Linked DNA regions of Homo sapiens: region 1 is linked to region 2. The links are contacts of gene promoters, found by promoter capture Hi-C in blood cells and fetal thymus (Javierre and others, 2016). All regions are on one chromosome and are shown on one strand. Each heading gives the region's core, a stretch centred on a gene start or on the middle of the fragment in contact. The rest is flanking DNA. Distances are from core to core; before and after follow the strand shown. Region 1 holds the start of ISCA1 (iron-sulfur cluster assembly 1). Region 2 holds the start of SLC28A3-AS1 (SLC28A3 regulatory antisense RNA 1).

The links. The method cuts DNA at HindIII sites, captures the fragments that hold promoters and counts their contacts. A CHiCAGO score of 5 or more calls a contact.
Region 1: a contact is called between a fragment that was not itself captured here and the fragment with the promoter of SLC28A3-AS1 in region 2, in 1 of 17 cell types (naive B cells). The highest score is 5.8, in naive B cells.

What each region holds. Positions count from the first base shown.
Region 1 is chr9:86,276,591-86,283,692 of GRCh38, reverse strand. It overlaps ISCA1 (iron-sulfur cluster assembly 1), which reads left to right and starts at 1,155. Exons shown (of 4, transcript NM_030940.4): 1 at 1,155-1,315. The coding sequence starts at 1,235. It overlaps LOC124902194 (a long non-coding RNA gene), which reads left to right and starts at 1,612. Exons shown (of 2, transcript XR_007061634.1): 1 at 1,612-1,724; 2 at 2,240-5,476. RefSeq lists enhancers at 755-1,034, 1,155-1,304 and a silencer at 1,475-1,774. The HindIII fragment of the contact is 1,224 bases long and covers 2,511-3,734 here.
Region 2 is chr9:84,275,887-84,282,497 of GRCh38, reverse strand. It overlaps SLC28A3-AS1 (SLC28A3 regulatory antisense RNA 1), which reads right to left and starts at 4,328. Exons shown (of 2, transcript XR_001746802.1): 1 at 4,099-4,328. It overlaps SLC28A3 (solute carrier family 28 member 3), which reads left to right. Exons shown (of 18, transcript NM_001199633.2): 15 at 1,616-1,697; 16 at 2,425-2,523; 17 at 3,113-3,233; 18 at 4,154-6,611. The coding sequence ends at 4,280. RefSeq lists enhancers at 3,911-5,110, 5,243-5,794. The HindIII fragment of the contact is 13,311 bases long and covers 1-6,611 here.

The DNA of each region.
Region 1 (7,102 bases), core at 1,873-4,372, 2.0 Mb before region 2:
CGTCCTCTTATTGTCAATGCGATTGCATTTCTGTAGCAGGAAGTCAGAACTACTTGATGGAATTTTGAACTATCCTTTCAGAAACTGCAGGAGATCGAAGATAAACTTGGCTTTAAAAAATGTTTCACTGATTAGTTCTTCCCACATTCAAACACTGCGAATCTGTCCTCCCCAGGACTGCTTCATAGACCCCTCCTGCCCTTTTTCCTTCACTTCTAGCACTTCAATGACAAATGCCACCTGTCTTGATGTCCTCCTCTCTTCATCTGCTAGCCCTGTCCTGCCAGTATCTCATTCTTCCCTGGCCCCTCTTTACCTGGCTTCCTGTGTATGCCTGGGTACCGCGCCTGTGCAGTGTCTGGTGCTCAGGAATACTGCATCAAAAGGCAGAATTAAGCCCCTGAGCAGCCAGGACAAGGTCTGACAACACGTTTTAAATCGAGTAATTGTTGCTCGCTATAAATGTGACTATTCACACTGCTGCCCAGTCACATTTTCAAGTAGGGTTGGTTCCCAGTTCAGCACCAGAATGAAAACTGCATTAGTCACCACCCTTCAGCATCCCCAGCAGTACAGCACGCTGGGGAGAAGGGTGGAGGGTGGCGATTATACAACTCTGCGGTAACGCCATGCTCTTAAGAACAGCCTAATTGGACCACAAAAGAAGAATGAAAATGGATGTAGATGTCTGGGCATCGGAACGATCACTCTGCATTTGAGAGCATAAGCTCCCAGTGCAGGGTTGACTTATGCGTCCTTAAGTGTCACCGCCTATGATGGTGTTTGTCACGGTGAGTATTAAAGCAGGGGGTGACGCTGCACCTTGCCCCGGGGGCAGGTGGTGAAGCTACGTGCATCCGGAGTCAGCAGGTCTGAGGTCATTCCTCGCCCCCTCCCGCCCGCTCCCCGACGTCACGCCGACTCCGTCCTCGGCGGTGAAGACATTCCTCCCGGGCCCTGCGCCCTGCAGCGTGGTAACCCCACTGCCGGAGACCGTGCGCAACCCAGCTGCTAGACCCCCGGCGTTGAGCGGCAAAACCCCGCCCCGAGCGGCTTGCCCCGCCCCCGGCTCGTCACTCATGCAACTCACCCAATGGTGGCGGCGGGGGGCGGGGCTAGGACTGAGGGCGCCGTGCGCCGAAGCTTGTGGCGTCAATGCGCCCGCCGTGTCCATGGAGAGAAGCTGAGGCGGCCGACCTTCGGCCCGAGGCACCGGGGCGCCGGGACGGCGAAGATGTCGGCTTCCTTAGTCCGGGCAACTGTCCGGGCTGTGAGCAAGAGGAAGCTGCAGCCCACCCGGGCAGCCCTCACCCTGGTGAGTGCTCGCGGCGCGCGGCGGGGCCCGTGACATTGCTCGTGTCCGCCCCGTGCAAGGGGAGGTCACGGCGGCCGGGAGTGGGGCCGCAGGGACGCGGACACGTCAGACCTCGGCGTCGCTCCGACCCGCCGCACAGCCTCGCCGCCTCCTTCGCCTCCGGCCCCTCTTTGCAACGATAAACAAGTCCCGGGCGGGGCTGCTCTCTTGGCCCCGGAAACTACGTTTCCCGTCAGGCCGCGCGGCAACCGCGTGCGGGCCGGAGGGGATCCCGGGGGTGGGCGTCCCCGGGGGCCGATCGCCTCCACACTCCTGCCGGCCTGCGCTGTTCGGCCGTTCCGGTTAAGCAGAGGCTGAACGTGCCCGGTGGCGGGGGTTCCCGGTGGTGGCCCGGAGTCCTAGCCTGGAGGTGCGTGGGGTGGGGAGGGACCAGGCTGTCCGAAGGACCGCTGTGTCGGGGCGACAGCGTTCGCAGAGGGCGAGCACAGCGACAACAAAGCCCCCGGCTCCTGCCGAGGTCACGGCCGCGGCGCGCAAAGCGTTACTTGCCGGTGTCCTGGGTGATTGAGGCCTTTGAAACTCCCTCTGTGCCTCTAGCAAGCCTAGGCTCTTAGGACAAAAGATGATTTCCCAGAGTGAGTTTACAGCCTTTTCTGGGTGAAAGGTCAAACACTCAGAGGGCACCAGAGTGCAACCATTGATTACTTAGAGAATTCACTGAGCTCAGTGTTCCGGCCGCACCGTTCAGTTTTTTAGTGGAAGGAAAATCCACATAACATAAAATTAGTCCTTTTAAAGGGTACAATTCAGTGCCATTTAAGACATTCACAGTGTCGTGCAACCATCACCTCTATCTAGTTCCAAAATACTTTCACCCCAAAAGAAAAATTTATGATCACGTTCCTACATACACTCCCCTTTTAGTGAAGGAGACGACTTTATGCAACCATTCGCTTAGAGACTGGGAAAAAAAACGATTTAAATTGACTCATCGATTCTGTTGCATCTAATGCCAAAAGGGCCTATTACCAGAAAATAAGTTTGTAGCAAAGTAGAAGAAAATTGTGATCAGGTGAGAGAATTTATTTTTATAATCAATTTTTTAGGCCTTTGATATTACCCTGATTATATATGGTACTACTAGTGTACTGATTATGTATCATTCTATATTACCTCTTTTCTGTAGGAGCAAGCTTATTTTCATACACCGTGGGATGTAGAATTAAACAAGGTTTTAAGAACTAGAGGGCACAACTCATTCTTTGTGTCTCTTTCAATCTCAGTAAGAATTATTCAGAATTCTTCCACTGGTAATGGTAGATCCAGGAAGAGCCAGAAGGTTCAGGAACAGTTTTTGCCTTTTCTTTTTTGCTTTTTAGCAACCCTATTAACTGGGTTTTTTGTTTTTTGTTTTTTGTTTGTTTGTTTGTTTTTGTTTGTTTTGTTTTTGGAGACAGGGTCTCACTCTATCTCCCAGGCTGTAGTTCAGTGGTGCAATCATGGCACACTGCAGCGTCAACCTCCTGGGCCCAAGCGATCCTCCCACCTCAGGCTCCCAAGTCGCTGGGACCACCGGTGTGCACCGTCATGCATGCACCTAGGGTCTCCCTGGGTTGCCCAGGCTGGTCTCGAACTCCTGGGCTCAAGCAGTCCACTGCCTCAGGCTCCCAGTGTGCAGGGATTACAGGTGTGAGCCACCATGCCTGGTCCCTGATGTCTTTCTCCATCACCATTTGACATGTTACCTCTTCCTTCAGAATTTCTTTTTTTTTTTTTTTTTTTTGAGACAGGGTTTCGCTGGGTTGCCCAGGCTGGAGTGCAGTGGCGTGATCTCAGCTCACTGCAGCCTCTGCCTACTGAGTTCAAGCAACTCTCTGCCTCAGCCTCCTGAGTAGCTGGGATTACAGACGCCCACCACCATGCCCAGCTTATTTATTTATTTATTTTTGTATTTTTAGTAGAGATGGGGTTTCACCATCTTCACCAGGCTGGTCTTGGACTCCTGACCTCGTGATCCACTCGTCTCAGCCTCCCAAAGTGCTGGGATCACAGGCATGAGCCACCGTGCCTTGCCCTTCCTTCAGAATTTCTATGTCAGTCCCTTTCTCTCCATTCCTAGTCATTCAGCAGACATTTATCAAGATCTGCTGTGTTTCAAGACAAATGAATGAGTTATACAGTTCCCAGCCTACGGGGCACAGTCGCAGGCCAAGCCTTTGCCACCTCTTACTAGGAGTAATAGCACTGCACATTCTCAGGCTTGGTCTCTCTCCACACTTGCTCCCCTCTGCTTCAGTACATGTTATCATAGCAGTTCTCAAGGTATCCATGTTGCCTGACTCAGCTGTTTTGATTAACTTGCAGGAGTCTACTGTCTGTACTCTGTTGTCCTACTTAAGTATGGCTGACTTTAGAAGCTTCTCAGAAGCTGTACCAGAGAGAAGGCACATCAATGCTGTTTTCCACACAGCCTGTGTTGGTGGGCTTGCAGTCATTTTAGTTCCAGCATTCGTGCCCTAGTCAGGACACTATGGCATGTATTGCTCTTTGTGCTTAGTTTATCATCAGCATGTATCGTCAAGTGCAAAAGTAGTGATGCCGTCAAAGGCCTAATGAATGGAGACAGATAAGAGAGCAAACAAAAGTATACGTAATTCAGTAAAACTGATTGGAAGAGGTAAATGTTACTTGGGTCTAATAAGTAGAGACAGATAAGAGCAAACACAAGTATACCTAATTCAGTAAAACTGATTGGAAGGGATAAATGTTACCTGGATATATAAATTTTGATGTTAGGAATTTGACATGTTGCAACATTTGAAAAGTGCTATATGTGTGGAGTCTACCAGATGTCAACAAAAGGCTAGGAAAAGTAACTGATAATATAACACAGTTCAATGCTGTCATTATCAGATTATCTACATCTTCCCTATTTCCCTACATATCTAGAAATTGACAAGTGGAATTGAACTTGCAGGAGCCAGATGTGATTAAAGAATCTGAAGAGTAAATAGTGCCCTGCTTGCAGACAGATTTATTTCCATCATTGTACAAGTCAGAGCAACTCTAATTTGTAGGACTGGGGTGGATCACAGCTGTGCATTAAAACTCAACCAAGTTCTATGAGAGAATGATGGTGCACAGCCACTATCATTCTTGATGAATTCATTGTGTACGGAAGGTGCCTTAGGGCTTAACTTTCTATTGGAGTCCAGTTGAGAAGCTAGGAAATGCTTAATGCTCAGTAAGGAACTGTGTGTTAGTTCATTGGACTAGAACCAGAAGTCCTTTTGAACAGTGACCAAGCACTAAGATTTCTATACGAAGGCAGTTTAGGAAATACTACACAAGAAGCACTGGAAGTAGCCTAGCAGTCTAACAGTGAAAGAACGGTTAAGTACGTGAGAGTAGATCCTGTTGGTGAAGGATGTAGTCATTGTAAATTATGGTTTTTTTTAAGTTTCAGCGTTATAAATCTTCATTCTTTGACTTATGCTGTGCAAATTATTTAATCTTTAATACCTAAATCACAATGGCAGGAATAAAAAGATGTTACGTTTAAACCATTAAACACTTAGAAGGTGCTCAGTAAATGGTGAATATATGTTTATTACCATGTATCAAATGAAAAAATAATTTGTTAAATTGTTTCAATGGAGGCTGCAAAATTATGTATATATGCCATGATTACAAACCTTTTTCTTTTTAGAGACAGGATCTTCCTCTGTCACCCAGGCTCATATGCAGTGGCATGATCATGGCTTACTGCAGCTTCAAACTCCTGGGCTCAAGCAATCCTTTCACCTCAGCCTCCCAAGTAACTGGGACTACAGGCACATGTCACCTTGACTGCTAATTTTTTTTTTTTAATTTATTGTAGAGACAGGGTCTTGCTCTGTTGCACAGGCTGGTCTCAAACTCCTGGCCTCAAGCCGTCCTCCCACCTTGGCCTCCCAAAGTGCTGGCATTACAGGCATGAGCCACCACACCTGGCCTACAAATATATATTTGTATATTATATGTATTTTGGATGTGTATATACACATATACACAAATAAGAAAAGACAAAAGAGAATGCTTTTGTCTTTTCTTATTTTGACACTCTAATGCCAGCCATGGCTGTTAAAGAATGATTTTAATAAAATACACTGTACTTGTTCACTGGCTCTATTTATTTACCATCTTTTGTTCCCCCAGAAAATTGATATGTTGACATTAAAATGCCATGTTTGTAGAGAAATTAAGTTGTAGTTGTTGGCACATGTTTAGTATGCATAATCACAGAGTTAACTTTAGCTTTGAATTTAATTTAATTTTCTTAAACAGCAAAAAATGAAAATTGCCTGGGGAGTTACTTAAAGAAATACAGGATTGAGAATGAAAAGTTTCTCCTACAAGGATTAGAAAGCGTGTTGCTATGAAGTAGTGATAAAACATTCATCTACAATGCCTTTTCCCTTAATTTTAACAGCGGAAACATCTTGGAAATATATTTATTTTTCAATTAGGCCAAAATACCTTACCTCAAAGATAACCTCTCACTTTAAAAGTCATATTCCTGTGATTTGCATGTGAGTAAAAACCATCATATTTTAGTGGGCTTCAGGAAGCTCTTAAATTTTAAAACATGGGCCAAATCTCAGGTAAGCTATATTCATTAATAGTACATAAATTTCTTGAGAATTACATGTTTCTTAGTTGTTCTGGGAAGTGCACTGGTACTGGCAGGCTGCTAGGCCCTGCAGCATGCTGTGTAGTTGAAGATTTTATGCTGTTTCTCACATGAATTTTACCTAAGCACAAAGTTGCCAGAGTATGTAGACTTAAAGCAGGGTAGGATTCTTAGCCTCTCCCTGGTACTGAGACACAAAAAGTACCTCTTATAGCTCGATTTTTTTTAAGTCCCAACTCTTCCCTTTTAACCACTCTCCCTTGTTCTGAAAATCAGATCAGTCACTTTGAAAGTTCTAAGAACCTTTTCCCTTGGTTGAGTACTGACCTGGGTTGTCCATCATTAGTAACACCCTCCCAGTGGAGTAGGTTTGGTTTTGGCCTGGCACAGGAAAATTAAGACATATTTTAGTTCCTGTAACAGCAGCTTCCCAGGCACACAGGTTCCTGTTGAATGTTACTTTTCCCTTAAAGAGTCCTTCAGTATGAGATGTGAACATCAGCAACTTGGTGATAAGTAGACCAATCCCCACGAATTGCTTTCATTTACTGTATTTAAGTGTTTCCTGCTAAAAGTTGAGAAAATAAGAAAATAGATGACTTTGTAAAACCAAATTAGATAATTTAGAAAACCACTTGGAGATAAAAAAAATTATATATTTGGGGCTGGTAAACGGAGTAGTGTGACAGACACATTTGTTTTGTTTAGATCATGCAGTGGTGTGCCCATCTGTGCCTTTGATCCACTCAGATTAAACCAAGACCACGTTTCAGATTTTAGTTCCCGCGGATATTTTCCATGGCTATGCCTTTTTTTTTTTTTTTTTTTTTTTTTTGAGACAGAGTCTCACTCTGTTTCCCAGGCTGGAGTGCAGTGGCATGATCTCGGCTTACTGCAGCCTCCGCCTCCTGGGTTCAAGCGATTCTCATGCGTCAGCCTCCGGAGTAGCTGGGATTACAGGCGCATGCCATCATCCTCAGCTAATGTTTGTATTTTTAATAGAGACGGGGTTTCACCATGTTGGCCAGGCTGGTCTCAAACTCCTGACTTCAAGTGATCCTTCCACCTTGGCTGACCTCAAGTGATACTTCCACCTCGGCCTCCCAAAGTGTTGG
Region 2 (6,611 bases), core at 3,079-5,578:
TGTGGTACACACACCATGGCCAGACTATAAGGAAGCTCCTGTGATAGCTGAGAATTTCATTTTTACTAACATAATTATTTTTAAATTATATCCTTTTCACTGAATTATAATTTATATACCAACTTAAGGGCTCAGTTTTGATGTCACCTGTGTAACCACAACTATAATCGACATATAGACTATCATCTCTGTCACACCTTTAAAAAAAAAAAAGGTTTTCCTCATGGCCATTTGTAGTCAACAACCCCACTCCCATCCCCATCCGAAGACCTAGTCCCAGGCAACCAATAGCCAGTCTTTCACTGTAAATTATGTTTGCATATTCTAGAATTTCTTTTATTTTTATTATTATTTTTGAAATGGAGTCTCACTCTGTCGCCCAGGCTGTAGGGCAACGGTGCGATCTCAGCTCACTGCAACCTCTGCCTCCCGGGTTCAAGTGATTCTCCTGCCTCAGCCTCCCGAGTAGCTGGGATTACAGGCACACACCATCATGCCTGGCTAATGTTTTTTTTGTTTGTTTTTTGTATTTTTAGTAGAGGCAGTGTTTCACCATGTTGGCCAGGATGGTCTTGAACTCCTCACCTCAAGTGATCTACCCGCCTCGGCCTCCCAAAGTGCTGGGATTACAGGCGTGAGCCACCGCACCCAGCCCTAGAATTTCATATACATGTGCTCACTTAGCATTCATGTTTTTGCATGTATTTCCTTTTTATTGCAAAGCAGCATTTCATTTTTATGGGTATCCACAATTGTTTATCCATTTGCCTACTGAATGACATTCAAGTTGTTTCCAGCATGAGGCTATTTAATAAAGCTGCCATATATATTTATGTACAATCTTTTTGTGGCATGTGTTTTTGTTTCTCCTAGAAAAATTGCTGGGTCATTCAGGCAGAGCAAGTAAACTTAAGAAGAAACTTCCATACTGTTTCACAAACAGACTGTGTCATTTTACAGTCCCACCAGCAGTGTATAAAACTTCTAGTCACTTCACATCCTTGTCAACACTTTGTATTTTTTAATTTTAGTGGAGGCATAGTAGTATCTCATTGTGGCTTTATTTTGCATTTCCCTGGTGATCAATGATGTTGAACATCTTTTCATGTACTTTTTTGTTATTTGCATAGCTTTTGTGAAGTATTCAAATCTCCATCCATTTTTCCTTGGCTGTTGGTCATCTTATTGAGTTATAACAGTTTTTTATATAGTCTGAATAAGTCCTTTTTCAAGTAAATGTAATGTGAATATTTTCTGGGACCAATTTTTTATCTCCAGCAACTAGTCCTGTCCCTGGCACACTGTAGCAGATGGCCAGGTCATATGGAATATTAGAAGGTATTATTGACCAGGAAGCAGCATTTGTAGAAGCCAAGGCTACCAATCATAAGCCCTTTGTAGAGAGTCACTGAGTCCACACAGCCCCCTTCCATCTTCCCACAAAATTCAAGTGGAGATGGTAAAAGAGGTCTAGGGAGTAATGGGTATTTGATACCATGGACTGTGCATTTATTTGTCAATATTGAATTTATGGTCAAAATGAAGCCCAGTTGGATGTCAGATTTGTTAAGCCAGCTCAGATTGTGTATACATATGTGTTTATGCTTGCTTACAGATTCGTTCTGAGATAATCGCCACTTACGCTCTCTGTGGTTTTGCCAATATCGGGTCCCTAGGAATCGTGATCGGCGGACTCAGTAAGTGAAAAGAACATTCTTCAACAACACAGATGTGCCATAGACATACTTGGATCCCCATTTTGCTCTGTACTGTTATGTCAGAAAAAACAAAGGCCTTTGCAACAGTCATGAGTCCTCTGGGGTCTATTTTTTTAATCTCTAGTCTGCAATATAGTTTTCCCTTGCACACCCAAACTGACCTCAGGAAAAATTTTCTCAAACATACAGATGCTTCTCCCAGCCCAGGGGTGACCTGTAGGCTTCACCTTACATGCCAATGCCAATAGGTTTATGATGGGCACCTGGAGAAGGATTCTGAGAGCCATTGGAAGTCCAGTGGAAGAATGCTGTGATTTCTTAGTGGTGTCTGCCACGGGCATAGAAGTAGATGGTGACAGTTGAGTTGCACATCATCTCCTTAGTCTATGCCTCCTGCCACTCTTTTGCCTTGCCATGACCTCAATAAATAGCCCTTTGGATGAAACTTAGGAGGTTTTTCTTCTGTGGAGAATGAGCCTTTGAGCCTTTTGGCAAACAAGCCTCTTCCCTTCTTCCCACAGCAGAGAATTTCTCTGTATGTGGAGTTTATTACTAAGTTCTTGAATCTTGAATTTCCCAGCTAAGTTAAAGAAAAAAAAAAAAAAGTCAGCTGACCTGAGCCCAGCCTCAGAACAATTTTCAGAGGCTAAGAGTTTTAATCAGTACTTCAACATTGATCTCACATCCCTCCTTCCATGTTTCCCAGCATCCATGGCTCCTTCCAGAAAGCGTGATATCGCCTCGGGGGCAGTGAGAGCTCTGATTGCGGGGACCGTGGCCTGCTTCATGACAGCCTGCATCGCAGGTACCGCACCCTGTCCTTTGTGTCCCAGTGCCCACAGGATGAATGGCAGCTTTCAGGACAGGCAGTGCCTCCAGCTTGCATGTGCAGCACACGCTGCCACAGAAAGCTGAGAGTTAGAGCTGCTCTTAAGCATACTGTAAAGTTAAATGTGTGCAGTGTGGTGGAGGAGCTAAGAACAGAATGAGGGTTCAGTGACTTCCTTAATTAATAAAATAAATGGGGCCGGGTGCAGTGGCTTACGCCTGTAATCCCAGCACACTGGGAGGCCAAGGCGGGCGGGTCACCTGATGTCAGGAGTTTGAGACCAGCTGTCAGGAGTTTGAGACCAGCCTGACCAACGTGGCGAAACCGCATCTCTACTAAAAATACAAAAATTAGCTGGGTGCGTGCCTGTAATCCCAGCTACTTGGGAGGCTGAGGCACTTGAATCGCTTGAACCCGGGAGGCAGAGGTTGCAGTGAGCAGAGATCATGCCACTACACTCTAGCCTGGGCAAAAGCGCAAGACTCTGTCTCTAAATAAATAAATATATAAATACATAAATAAAACTAAAAAATAATAAATAAATGGGACTCTGTTCCACTTCTAGGCATACTCTCCAGCACTCCTGTGGACATCAACTGCCATCACGTTTTAGAGAATGCCTTCAACTCCACTTTCCCTGGAAACACAACCAAGGTGATAGCTTGTTGCCAAAGTCTGTTGAGCAGGTATTGTATTCTTGATTATAATTTCTTTATACTCCATTAATAATCAATCAAATCACACCTAAATATCCACTTACTTTTTTTTTTTTTTTTTTGAGACGGAGTCTTGCTCTGTCTCCCAGGCTGGAGTGCAGTGGCGCAATCTCCGCTCACTCATCGACTTAATTTTATAACTTTATGACTCTATTTAAAAGTAAGAACTTATGCAGTGATTCTAACCACCTTTCACTCTGACTTTTCTCAGATAAGGCTAGCAACTATAACACTAGCTAGTGCTACTCAAGCATTTAATATGCACCCAGCTGTGTGTTACGCACTTTGTATGAATTAGCTCACTTAAACCTTGCAACTACTGTATAAGTTGGGCACTATCTTTTTTTTTTTTTTTTCATTCCACAAAATTAAGGCTTAGGGAAGCTATGTCTACTCCAGCAAAATTAGCACAAGTACAAGTGAGATACAAAATTCAGGCTGATCTTCCTGCTAAGCCTATGCCCTTAACTGCTACCCTCTGCTGGCTCCCCTTCAAGGGGATCCAGGCTGTCCAGACAACACGATGATCGTCTATGGTGAACAAGAAACTACCAGTGACCCATGCCAGCCACCCCCACCCTGTACAGTTTTAATTTGCAAAATCAGTGTTCCCACACAAGGTGCCATCCTTAATGTGCAAGTGTTTTATAAGGATTGATTCTATCCTATCTTTGCTTGTTATGGAGGAAATAGGGAAAGTTCTTGAGGACACCCAGAATTTAGGAGCCAAAACAAATTCCCCAGTGTCTCTGTCCTTTAATCCACCCTAACCAGAATGTGAGCAAGAAAATCAGCTTCCTGCCCTGAACTATTTTTAATGTCATTGTCTGCTCACCTACTGTTTCTGCCATCTATGGCTCATGTAACTGTTTCTTTCCACTTTCCACCAGCACTGTTGCCAAGGGTCCTGGTGAAGTCATCCCAGGAGGAAACCACAGTCTGTATTCTTTGAAGGGCTGCTGCACATTGTTGAATCCATCGACCTTTAACTGCAATGGGATCTCTAATACATTTTGAGGTCAGCCACTTCTCCAGTGGAACTCTGAAGTACAGATGCTGAATTTTCTGCTTTGGAAAGAAAAAAAAAAGAAGCTATTGTCCACAGATTGATGCTTCCATAATGGAATCAGCTTTAATTGCAAGGAATGAAGAAAAACAAGAGTGGACCTTCAAAGCTACAACATTTTCCTCCTCCCCTCCCTCCCCACCAGCCCCTTCCCCACCAAGAACTGCTATGATGTCCCAAAGTGAGGTGTTGTTGATTCCAGTCTCAATGGGATTTTCTGACTTTAATGTTTGCAAGGCATTTCACCAGAATACAGCTATAAACGGCCGCTCCCAACAACTGGGCTCTGACTCACCCACACCCACTTAGTGTCCACTAAGTAGTCCAGGGTGACTCAGTTTAAGCACATCTCAGGTGAGGTCACTCTGCATATACCTTGGCTTACCTGAAATAGCCTGAACTTGAATCTCACATAAGGGAAAACTAGTCATCAATCACCAACTCATTGACTACCCTCAGGAAGTCCTGCAGAAATCAAGAGTCCTTGAGGAGAACACGTGGATCATACCAAAACCAGGGTTTAAATCCATTCTGCTTAAGAGTTCTATCAGTCAGTTTAACCATAAATTACGCTACAGAAACAAACAACCCAAAAACCTCAGTGGCTTACAGATTTATTTTTCACTCACATGTTTGTAATGATCCATCTTGGTTGTAATCCATATTGCTTCAGCACCCAGTCTAAAGGAGCAGCCTCTAAGGGGGGCATGTTGGTCTTAAGAGGGAAAAGAAAGGTGGGAACCACATGATGGCTCTTTCATCTTCCGCTAGGAAATGATACCCTTTACTTCCATGACATTCCATTAGCCAAAACAAGTCCTGTGACAGGCACGATGTCAGTCACCACAGTTAAATTATCCTGTCATAGGGAGGGATAGTGAATATTTTGCAGAAGTAATATGATACACCATAAGGGTACATAATATCCATGTCTCCCTTCAAGGAGCCATCCTGTTGTAGGCCATAACGGTAGGCCTATTCATCTGCACATTTGGTAATGTATTCCTGGTGACAAAGCAGCTACTCTTCAATCAAAAGCCGTGTAAGAAGCAGTTGAGGAAAAAAAGTCCTGGTTGAGCTCTGAAAACCTTGCGTTGATAATTTCATTGACCAGGATGGCATCAGTATCAAACTTGAAGAATGGGTGTCAGTGTCTAAGAAAAAGATTCCAGAGACAATGGTGGTGTGCTCTTTAACGAAATGCCCATCACCACTGCTCTTAATAGCATGAAGACCACATGCTGTGAGAAAACACAAACATCAATTACCAAGTCAAGAAACAGACACTGAATGTGAAAAAGGTTTTGAAATACCTTAAGTAATTTATTTTGTTTCTATTTTTCCTTCTGTTTGTGTACAAGAGTAATTTAAAAGAAAAAGCTATGTGAAAATAGTTGGGGTTTTTTGTGTGTTTTGTTTTTTGTGGTGGTGAAGGAGGAGGCCTAATGTCCAGAGGACTGTTTATCCCTGAAGTATGATATACTAAAATATTTCTTATTATTTGTATCAATTTTCCTTGGAGCTCAATGTGCCCTTGCAGTCTTCAGACTTTATTTTAGGAAAATATATTTGCATGTTTTCCCCCCATTCTCAATGTTTGGTGTCCTGGTTCATCATACCCCACAGAATGTTATGTTTATGTATCATACCATTCCTCTGTGGACATGCATTTACTTTGTTTACAGGTTTTGGTTTGGGGGTTCTCTTTTTCCTACTCTGGACAGTGCATGTACATTTACTTTGCATGCTGGTGCTTTTTTTTCTATAGCAATAGTGTCTGATAGACATATGCAAGTCACATGTAATTTAAGATCTAGTAGCCACGCTAAAAAACAAGTAAAATTAATTTTAATATATTTAACTCAATACATTGGAGATATTATTTCAGTAAGATATTTTTCATTCTTATGAAACTAAGTCTGTCTGGTTTGCATATCTCAGTTGAGACACTAAAGTTTTACTGATAATACTTAATCCATGTTTAGATTTCATAAAATCTAAATTTGCAAAGTAAATTTACATACCCATGTTGGTCTAAATGTGCTTAAAAGTTTTCCAATAACTGAAATGAGTATCAGTTTTAAATTTAAAAATTTGTTACTTGGTTACTCCATATTTCAGGTATTAGTGGCTACCATATTGGTCAGAGCAGATTCATAGGATGATTTCCCAGGTTTGAAGTGTGTGTATATTTCTGGTATTATAAGATGTCAGACTGGTTTTTGGAGAAATATGTTGTCTTAATTTTTACCTGCTTTGATATGACCTTTCTGTGTGTACGT